3 separate regions of the Homo sapiens genome follow, and regions 1 and 3 are each linked to region 2. Evidence: promoter capture Hi-C in 16 types of primary human blood cells and fetal thymus (Javierre and others, 2016). All regions are on one chromosome and are shown on one strand. Each heading gives the region's core, a stretch centred on a gene start or on the middle of the fragment in contact. The rest is flanking DNA. Distances are from core to core; before and after follow the strand shown.

The links. The method cuts DNA at HindIII sites, captures the fragments that hold promoters and counts their contacts. A CHiCAGO score of 5 or more calls a contact.
Region 1: a contact is called between a fragment that was not itself captured here and the fragment with the promoter of GCM2 in region 2, in 1 of 17 cell types (M2 macrophages). The highest score is 6.0, in M2 macrophages.
Region 3: a fragment that was not itself captured here is called in contact with the fragment with the promoter of GCM2 in region 2 in 1 of 17 cell types (M1 macrophages); the score reaches 5.6 in M1 macrophages.

The regions. Positions count from the first base shown.
Region 1 is chr6:11,521,932-11,525,654 of GRCh38, forward strand. LOC105374928 (a long non-coding RNA gene) reads left to right here. Exons shown (of 5, transcript NR_187824.1): 5 at 700-2,193. Among named protein-coding and RNA genes, the nearest start is that of TMEM170B, 14 kb to the right of the region's middle. The HindIII fragment of the contact is 2,040 bases long and covers 1,180-3,219 here.
Region 2 is chr6:10,880,354-10,883,654 of GRCh38, forward strand. GCM2 (glial cells missing transcription factor 2) reads right to left here and starts at 1,688. Exons shown (of 5, transcript NM_004752.4): 1 at 1,351-1,688. The coding sequence starts at 1,440. RefSeq lists a silencer at 1,583-1,877. The HindIII fragment of the contact is 9,517 bases long and covers 1-3,301 here.
Region 3 is chr6:11,496,331-11,499,938 of GRCh38, forward strand. All of the region lies in intron 3 of LOC105374928 (a long non-coding RNA gene), which reads left to right. Among named protein-coding and RNA genes, the nearest start is that of TMEM170B, 40 kb to the right of the region's middle. The HindIII fragment of the contact is 3,374 bases long and covers 286-3,608 here.

The DNA.
Region 1 (3,723 bases), core at 950-3,449, 640 kb after region 2:
GTTCTATTTTCAGAAATTTGGCATGGGTTCAGCATAAATTTATGTGACATATATTTAGTGATTAAGACAAAAAGAATAGCACTCACTGACATTGCTAAATAAAAATTTTCCAGTACTACCAATATAATTTATCTTGTTTATTATAGCTTTAAGAATTTTTCTAGAAAACTGAAGATAGCAGAGAATTAACACAACTCTAAAATATCCTGAAAACTAATTTTTGCTTATATGATTGAGAAAATTATCTTCACATTTCACATTGCAGACTCTGTCTACCTTCAGTGAAATATTTTTGGCTTAGAAAACTAGTGTCTAGAACACATTAGGTTTCAGAAACAGTTTTTTGGCACTTCTGTAAGAAACTCCACTCAACTTATTGTGAAATTGTATTAAGTAAATTAAGTGAAAATTGTTTAGTAAGTATTCAATATTGTGTTAGGTGGTATAGCTATTAAGGGAAAAAAAGATGAGTTGTGGCCTTTGCCCTCACTTGTCTGATAAAATAGTTGAGAAGAGACGTAAAGCAACAATTAATAAAACAGGACAGCTCAGAGTAATGTGTATGCTGATTTTTAGAAGTTCTGAGATGAGAGAGAGAAAGATGGAGCAAATATAAACATAGAAGCTAAGAACAGAGGACACGGAGAGAGCAAGTTCATCCTGCATTTCTGACCACTTTTCTGTTATTCTTTCCTTGAGGCTCCACTGAAATGAATGAAACCTGAAATGGTAGAGAAAACTGCATAGAAGAGGTGAGATTTGATCTGGGGCCTGATGGAAGAGGCAAGATTGGAGAGGATAAAGGGTTGAGTGGATAACATAAGTCACAGCACAGAAATGAGAATATGCTCAGTTTTGCAGAGAAGCAATGCCTAACTAGAGTACAAGTGCATATTGAAGCCATGGGAAATTATACTGGGTGAAGATGGTGGATAAAGAGATGTCAGAGGAGTGTAAACATGAAGCAGCAGAACATAGGGAATGGCTGAGCACAGGGAATAAAAGAATTAAAATTGGGTTTGGAGAGATTAGTTGGTCAAGGTTATGCAAGACACACTGGAAGGGTGGAGACTGGCATCAAGCCAGTTAACTAGGGCATTGCTGTAGTGTTCCTTCCATGAGACAGCAAGGACTTGGGCCAGGACATGTGTGTCAGTGCATATGGTGAGACAGGATGAAAGCTTTTCAAGGAAGAAAAATACCTGGCTTGAGCATGCTGGGCTAGAGATGATGGTAGGACTTCTTGTCTAGCAGGAGTTTGAAGGTATGAGGCTGGAGCTTAGGGGAGAGGGCAGCAGGGAGAAACAGACTGACACAGAAGGGAGAGCCAATGGCATAGAAGTTACAACTGAAACTGAGAATGGAAGAGATTTCAGAAAGAAAGAATGTGAAGGGAAGGACAGAGAAATGTGAGTTGGGAAGCACCCACATTTAGGACATAGGATGAGTAAGATGAGCAAGCGCAAGAGGGAACACCCGGTCTGGAGTGTGAGACTCAGAGTGTGGCCAGAGAACCAAGGGAGCAGAGTGCTAAGGAGGAGGATGTCACCACTAGGGCAGGAAGAAGCTGGATGATCCAGAAGGTGAGGTCCTTTAGGAGAAGAGTTTCAATGGCAATCTGGGACTGGAAACGGGATCACATGGATGAAGGAGGAGCAGCAAGGCGATGGGCCAGTGGTCACATCAAATAGTGAAGCAGTTATGATGACAGGCTCTGATGGTCACAGTACCTGAATCCTGGTTCCACCCAAACTGTACAACTTAACGAGTAGAAGTGTATCTAAGTCCCAGTGCACTGGGTTGAATATGGTCCCCCAAATTCATGTCCTTCCCAGATCAGAATGTGACCTTCTTTCGCAGTAGGGTCATTACAGACATAACTAGTTAAAATGAGGTTATAATGGAGAAGGGTGGCTCCATAATCCAATATGACTGGTGTCCTTATAAGAAGAGGAGAGAGACACAGAGAGAGACATGCACAGGGAAGACACCCAGCGTGATGACAGAGGTAGAGACTGAGGTTATGCAGTTGCAAGCCAAGGAACGCTAAGGACTGCCGGCAACACCAGAAACTAAGAAAAAGGCACAGAACAGAGTCTCCCTTGAGGCTTCAGAAGGGGCTTGCCAACACCTTGATTTTGGACTACCAGCCTCTAGGTCTATGAGAAAATAAATTTCTGCTATTGTAAGCCACCAGTTTATAGTATTTTATTATGGCAGCATCAGGAAACTAATATACTCATCCTTAAAGTGAGGAGAATAACACTTTGCTCATAGGGAGGATTAATATAACATGAAAAATGCTTAACACAGTGTCTGCCCCATAGAAAGAACTCAGTTAAAGCCAGGTGCGGTGGCTCACACCTGTAATCCCAACCACTAGGAAGGCTGAGGCAGGAAGATTGCTTGAGGCCAGGAGTTCGAGACCAGCCTGGGCAACAGAGCGGGACCCCATCGCTAGGGGAAAAAAACGGAACTCAGTTAAATGTTGGCAATATACTGTGTTATTCTTTGAAGAATTTTTATTGTAAGGGAAAGGAAAAAGTGATCTTAGATGAGTCAGGTAAACAATAAAGTGAATGTTGTTTTCAATTTTGTTTCTCTTTTAATAGGAGTTATTTGTGTATATTTAAACACAGAAAATAAATAAGATCTCCAAGGAGAGGAAAATAGCTAAAGAATTGGGAGATGATATGATATCTTCATCGAAGACCAAATCTGGTGCAAATGAAAGATTTCAAGAGATGTGACTGTAAAGTAAAATATTTTTAGTTATGTAGTATTTTACTTTATAGTCACATTTGTATCATTTATAATTCCCAGTTGATATTACCCTTCAGAGAAGACACTCTGGAAGGTATGACTCTTATTCTAATGTTGTTACCATTAGCTCAAATACTTTTGAATTTTCTTCAAAACCAGGTTATGAATTACTCAGACAAAAGTTTTACCTCTTAAGATACACCTCAGTTTTGATCAAAATAAATATTTCCCAGGCTGGTCACTTAACTGACACAACACCAAACAACTTCTGACTATATCCAAACACCAAATCTACCCTCACATTATACACATTAGCACCATTGAGGGCTTTTTTAAAAATGGGCCAAATATTTATCAAAGCTGTTTTTAAATACCTAAATATGAAAAACAAAATTCTGATTTTAAATGGAAAATCAACCTTGTTGGCTTAAATTCCCAATGACTTCAAACCAGGCAAGCTTTTCAATATAAGTTTTTTGAAGTTATGTATTATACATAAATCTTTTCACAGTCATTAATAGCCCTAACAGGCTACTGTGACTGGATCAAAAATAAAACTTCCAAGGGGTGTATTTCTATTTCAAGGGGTGGATGTCTACTCAGTAATTTCAAAGTAAGTGATCAATTTAAACCCATAGATTTATTATTTTCATTCTCATGTCTTAGACCTCAGTATATATGAGAAGGAAATGGCCTTGCTTTTCAAAGGTTTACAAAGAATAGAAAGGAATAAACAATAATTTGAAAATGCTTAATTATCTATTCACACCATGTTCAAACTTTCAGAAGGGAAGGAAGGTGGGCAAAGGGCAAAAGGGCCTTTTTGTCTTCTCTTTAAGTAACTTTTCCAGAGGTTCCAGAGAAAGAGAGAAGAAGGTCATTAACAAAGTCACAATGAGATCTTTCATTTTTTTTTTTTAAACTTTGGTAAGAACCTAAGACCTGCCCTCTTAGCAATGA
Region 2 (3,301 bases), core at 438-2,937:
TGCTGACCTCTATGAGAGGCGACACAATGTTGCAATGAATTGTTATTCATCTGAACACCTATCAGACACATTTTAGTTGCGGACAAAATGACCCATCTCTTTTATCCCTGTGCCACAACATTGCTGGAAGCCCACATCTGCAAATGGCAGGGAAGCAACTCTCATTCTACACCCCCCACCCCCTACAGCCAGGACTTCAACATCACTCAATTTTGGCCCTAACCAGTGTGACTAATGATAATTGGTCATTCTCTGGAACTGGCTTCAAACCACCCACTTCATTCACCACTTCATCCACCCCAGTCATTCTTTGGACTTGGCTCCAAACCATTTTTGCTTTATTGAAATAAAGCAAAATACAACAAATTCACCCTAAAAGAATGATGATTTGCTTGTCATTAGAGAAGAAGTAAGTTTTGGGTACAGGTGGCCTTGTTGGCATGACTATGGGGCCTCCTTCCTCTGAGCAGTTAGGGAGGTCTGAGCAAATTGCTCAAGTCGGGCTACTTGTTTTAAATTTAGGTCATTAGATTCACTTTACAGTTGTACCTCAGTTTTGCTGCATGAGAAGCAGTGGTATTTACATCTGCTTAGATTTTCTCCTTAGCTTCCTCATGGATTTAAAGTAAATGAATAAGGAGAGAGGCACCTAATTTCTACCTTGGTTAAAGGGAAGTGAAAGGACAGGCGTCCCGCTCTCCCCAAGACTGGGAATGTGGAGCCTGACCAACATTTCCTGCTGCTTTGCTTGTGATTTCAGGCAAGCACAAGGAAATTGCTGGGAGAAGACACATTTCTTCTTCTTCTTCTTCTTCTTTTTTTGAGATGGAGTTTTGCTCTTGTTGCCCAGGCTGGAGTTCAATGGCGTGATCTTGGCTCACCGCAACCTCTGCCTCTCGGGTTCAAGCGATTCTCCTGCCTCAGCCTCCCGAGTAGCTGCGACTTTAGGCATGCGCCACCACGCTGGGCTGATTTTGTATTTTTGGTAGAGACGGGGTTTCTCCATGTTGGTCAGGCTGGTCTTGAACTCCCGACCTCAGATGATCCACCCGCCTCAGCCTCCCAAAGTGCTGGGATTACAGGTATGAACCACAGCGCCCGGCCAAGAAGACACATTTCTAAACCCAACTCAGCCTTTTGTAGAGTCCAGTTTTCTTTCTACACTTGAGAGGGCCTCAGAAACCCAGAAATTTTGCGGGTATGTGTGTGTGTGTGTGTGTGTGTGTGTGTGTGTGTGTGTGTGTGTGTGTGTGTATGGTCCGTCCGCAGACTCTTCAAGAACTCGAATGCCATTCTCCCTCCTTCGGATGGACAGCGCCCCGCGTGCCCGCACACACCCGGTTCACTTACCTGAGGCATCTGCGGATCGTTGATGTCCCAGCTGAGCTGCATCCCGTAGGAGCACACGCCGACCGCTTCCTGCACCGCGGCCGCCGGCATCTGCCCAACTCGCTCGCGCTTTCCGCCCAGGGTTCTGAAAAATAGAAGAAAAAAGGACAGGTGCGCCAGGTGGGTTTTTTTTCTTCTCTTTAAAGAAGAAAGTGGGGTGTGTGAAGGGGAGGTGCAGAGAGAGAGAAAGAGAGAGAGGCTGTTTAGATATCTGGAAGCTGGGGACAATGGTTATGGACCCGGGCGGGGCCTTGTCCTTGGCCGCGGTGCTGAACGTTCTCCACCCGAACGGCAGCATCGACCTCTGGCAGCTGCCCCCTCCTTTATAAAGATATACCTCCGGGGGGCTCCGCCCTGTCTCGCCTACCTCGCTAGCGCCCACGCTCCAGGGGCCGGTCGCCCCCTCCACCACAGTCCCAGGAACGGAGGTGGAGGTTAAACTCAGCCCTGGAAGCAAATGGAAACTGCAGCCAGAGGGTGGGGGTGGAGAGGGTAAGTAGGAATGTATCCTTTAAGTTTAAAACCTTATTATTTTCTTCTTTTCTTTTCTTCTTTTTTGTCTCACTCTGTTGCCCAGGCTAGAGTGCAGTGGCGCCATCTCAGCTAACTGCAACCTCTGCCTCCCAGGTTCAAGCGATTCTCCTGCCTCAACCTCCCGAGTAGCTGGGAATACAGGTCCGTGCCACCACCCTGGCTAATTTTTGTATTTTTAGTAGAGACAGGTTTTAGCCATGCGAAACCCTGACCAAGCTGGTCTTGAACTCCTGACGATCTGCCCGCCTGGGCCTCCCAAAGTGCTGGGATTACAGGCGTGAGCAACCGCGACCGGCCTATTTTTTTTCTTTTTTCTAAACGCGTCCAGCTTCCCTGATTTCGGAAAGGGGCTTAGATGGAGGCTTTCCAGCAAAGTCCCCTGAGAGCCAACACTCAATTCCAGGAGAGCATGGGAACCGTGCGTGGGCCCCTCTGCCGTCCGCGTGCGCCCTAGCCTGAATAACCGCGCCCACGCCTCCTAGTTAGGGGTCAGCCCATTTTGGGCCTCCACTGCCGGCTCTTCCCCTAACTATTGTGAGTGTCTCGCAGTCTTGGCTCTGCTGTTTGGGACGTGCCAGGGTGCGCCAAGCCTCCGCGTATGCTCGCGAGCCCAGGCGCCTTCACGCTCCCGGGGACTTCGGAGGGACCTGGCCCTGCAGGAACGGAGTCCTACAAAGTGAACCTGGAGGAGGTGGGGGGCGGAAATGAGCCCGGGGTAGGTGGGAGCCTGGGGTAGGTGGGAGCCTGGGGAAGGAGGGAAAGGGGAGAGGGGAAAAGTCCCAAAGAACTCGCTTTCTCCACTGCTTTGGCTCCCTCTGGGTCTCAGCTTCCTTATCTGTTTATCTGTTAAATAAGAGGTTGTGGTTCGGCGAGCTCTCAGTTGCCACCCACCCGAACACAAATCTTTTTTTTTTTTTTTTTTTTTGAGACGGAGTCTCACTCTGTCTTCCCGGCTGGAGTGCAGTGGCGCAATCTCGGCTCACTGCAACCTCCGCCTCCCAGGTTCAAACGATTCTCCTGCCTCAGCCTCCCGAGTAGCTGGAACTACAGGCGCGCCATCGCGACCAGCTAATTTTGTATTGTTAGTAGAGACAGGGTTTTACCAAGTTGGCCAGGATGGTCTCGATTTTTTGACTTCGTGATCCTCCTGTCTCGGCCTCTCAAAGTGCTGGGATTAAAGGCGTGAGCCACCGCGCCCGGCCCACAACTCTTAAAAAAAAACTTCACTGATATAGTCTTGGAAATATCACGACGAAATTGAATTTACTCCATTACAGTCTTGGGAGGCTTTGGAGGACTAGAGAATCGCGGTGGTGCGGAGGTGCGCAGGACAATGTGGGTTCTCCGGGGCTGGGACGAAACCTTCATCATCTGAGCA
Region 3 (3,608 bases), core at 723-3,222, 620 kb after region 2:
TTTGTCAAGTTCACCCTCTGAAAGGGACAGTGAAAAATTAGGGGTTGGCTCCACCTGGTGCTTTGATTAGAAAATTACACCTCCATGTATGAGGGCTGTCAACGGACAGTGTGCCCTCTTGCGCACGGAAACAGTAAAAATACTACATAAATATTACTTAAAAATACTAAAACTACCCCACAAGAGTGACCAGTTAACTCACTTTCCATGCAGGGTGCTAAGGACTATTTTTGTATGGTTGTTTTAGTGTCTGTTGCTATGGAACAAATCATCTTAAAATATAGAAGCTTAAGACAACAAAATCATTTATTATCTCCCACGGTGTCTATGGGCCAGGAATTCAGAAGGAGCTCTGTCGGGTGGTTCTGCCTGGAGGCTTCTTTCACATGAGATCGCAATCAGACAGTACTTGGGGTTATTGTAAAGCCTCATTCGCTCCCGTGTCTGGTGTCTGAGCTGATAAGACTGGACAGGCTGGGGTGGGAGCTTCTCTCTGTCTCTATGTAGTCCCTCTTTAGGGTTTCTCAAGCATAGCCAGACTTGTTTCATGTTGGCTCAGAACATCCAAGGTGGTGTCCCCAGAAAGAGAGCCAGGAGGAAGCCGTGTTGCTTTTTATGATCCAGCCTCAGAGGTCAGGAAATGTCACTTCTGCTGTGTTCTGTTGATAGAGGTAATTGCAAACGTCTACCCAGGTTCAAGGGAAGGGAACATAGCCTCCACCCCTCAATACAGGAATGTCAGTGTCACGTCAGAAGAAGAGCATGTGGGATGGGATATATATTTGTGCATCATCTTTGTAAAAATACAATCAACCACAATTGTTTTATTTAATCATCCTTCACCGTAAATGAAGTTGCTTCGATATATCATTATCCCAATTTTACATTTAAGTGAAAGCAGAAGGAAACATTAAAGATCTTCTTACGCCCTTTCGGTGTCATACTAGAGCATTGCCTAATAAGCTGTCAAAAGTGTCATCTGTACACGATTCTCAGTCTTGGCGCTATTGAAATTTTGGTCTGGGTAATTCTTTGCCGTGGGGGCTGTTCAGGGCGTAATAGGTCATTTAGCAGTATCCCTGGCCCCTGCCCACCAGACACCAGTAGCACACCTTCATCCCTTTAGTTGCGATAGCCACAAATGTCTCCAGACATTGTCAGATATCTCTGGGGTGAGGAGAGGGCAAATGTTCCCCCAGTTGGGAAGTTTTACAGGAAGAAAGTTACTTTGATTATTTGCTATTGATGAAGGTGAGACTCTTGTAAAGTTAATGTTAACTTGTGGAGGATCATTATGTTGCAATTCATTTCTGTCCAGTAGGAAATATAAATCCTACAGATTATAGTTGTGTTGTTTTATAATTTACCAGTTTCAACTTCACTTGCAGTCTTATTCCAGCATTCTTTTTGTTCATTGACTATATATAGTAATTTTTCTTCTCCTTCTTCATTCATTGATAAGTTAAATAAACCTTTGTCACATGTGTGCATACACACACACACACACACACAAACGCACACACACACCAGCTCCTTGGCAGAATGCAGAGTGAGAATTCTCTCCAATATGGGGATATGGAGCTATTATGATCTCCCTTCAAGAAAGAACTTGTAGATTAGCTGTGAGGGTGCAGTTAGGTGATGGCCTTGGTTGCAGTGCCTCTGGTTGCTTAGCCACAGCAGTTGAGCTGAGGCCATGCTTTTCCTAGGCAGACCTTTAACAGCTAATGAGCACAGTGGGCGTGCCAGGGCCTGGCCCTTTCTGTTCATCATGGAACTTCTCCAACAGGCAGCCTTTGCTCTGGAGCTCTCTGTTGGGCTGGCTGAGACTTTTGCAGGACAGCACTGCAGTTTGAGACTCTTCCTAACTAACCCTCCTTCTCCCTCCCCTTTCACAGGTGACAGACCTGCATCTCTAGCCTTTTTGTGCTTCAGGCACAACTCAAAGCTGCCAATAATCATGTTGCCCAATTTGTGAGCTGGAACTGCAGTCTTTTTGTTTTTTTGAGACGGAGTCTGGCTCTTTCGCCCAGGCGGGACTGCAGTGGCGCTATCTTGGCTCACTGCAAGCTCCGCCTCCCGGGTTCACACCATTCTCCTGCCTCAGCCTCCTGAGTAGCTGGGATTACAGGCGCCTGCCACCGCGCCTGGCTAATTTTTTTTTGTATTTTTAGTAGAGATGGGGTTTCTCCGTGTTAGCCAGGATGGTCTCAATCTCCTGACCTCGTGATCCGCCCGCCTCGGCCTCCCAAAGTGCTGGGATTACAGGCGTGAGCCACCACGCCTGGCCTGGAACTGCAGTCTTAAGTGTGGCATGAGTTGCCTTCAGAACCCAAAGAGGCCTACCAGGCACTTCTTTTTTGAGGTATGAGATATAAGATGCAGCAATTTATCGTTTGCTTTGGAGGGAATATTCCAGCATGAACCTAACCACTGGATTCCTTAAATCCTCATTCATCTTTTCCTCTCTGGAGCATGAGTGTTTTACCAAGACCTCCAGCATACTAGCCACCTCTTGCTTCTTCTGGCCAATGAACATGATGTCATTGATGCAGTGGATGGGTTTGATGTTCCGTGGGTTCAGGTGATCTAGATTATTTCAGACTATTATGGCAAAGGGCAGCTGAGTTAAGATAGCTCTGAGGCAAAGCAATAAATGAATATTGGAGTCTGTCCACGTGAATGTGAATTGTTCCTGATCTTTTTTTCTAATATGGATAGAAAAGGCACATTCACCAAATAGACAACCACATGCCACGGGCCTGCGGCCTGTTTAATGTGCTCCAGCTGTGATCCCACCTCTGGCACAGCAGCCGCAGTCGACCACCATGTGATTGAAACTGTACTCATCTGTTGTCATTCTTCAGAGTCCATCCACTTCCTGCTGGGGGAGACTAGCAATTAAAAAGAGATATGATAGAGACGACCAATCCCTATTTTGTATTTACCATCTTGCCTGGGGGACAGTTTCGGAGTTTCCATTTGGCCTCTCCCACTATGATAGCACTTCCTCACTGACCAAGGAACAAATATAGGGTTTACTCCAACTGCCAAGTACATTCATTCCAGTGATACATGGAAATGGAGAAATGCTTCCTGGGTGAGTCTACAGGTTCTGTGGGCCCACTCTGTGCCAGACCCAGCTAGGACTCCATTCATTACTTGATTCTTATAAGGCCCCACTTCAACAAGGGGTCCGGGTGTCAAGGTCAACTCGGAACTTGTGTGCAATAGTCTAGACCTTCCCTTTCCCTGGCATACAGTCACCTAAGCAAATGGTCGTGGGTCCCTTTAGGGAAGGATGGGACAAGTCATCTCGATATAAACTTGTTGCAGTGTTGCAGGGTACTTATTCTTAGGGACCTGGCTGTCTTTTTAGTCAATGGATTTTGGACCTGAAAATTGGCTCAGTTCCTAGAATTGAGGAAAGTATCCTGACTTTTTACTGGGGCAATTGCTGTCAGCCTCTTGCCCCTCCTTTCTTGCCTTTTCTCGTTGTAGATGTTAAGCGTCAGCCTTGTTTGCCCTTATCTATTTTGCCTGTGGGAATGCCATGCTCCAGTATCCATCCCTCCACCTCCTTGAAGGTCAAGCCCCTTTGATGCCTC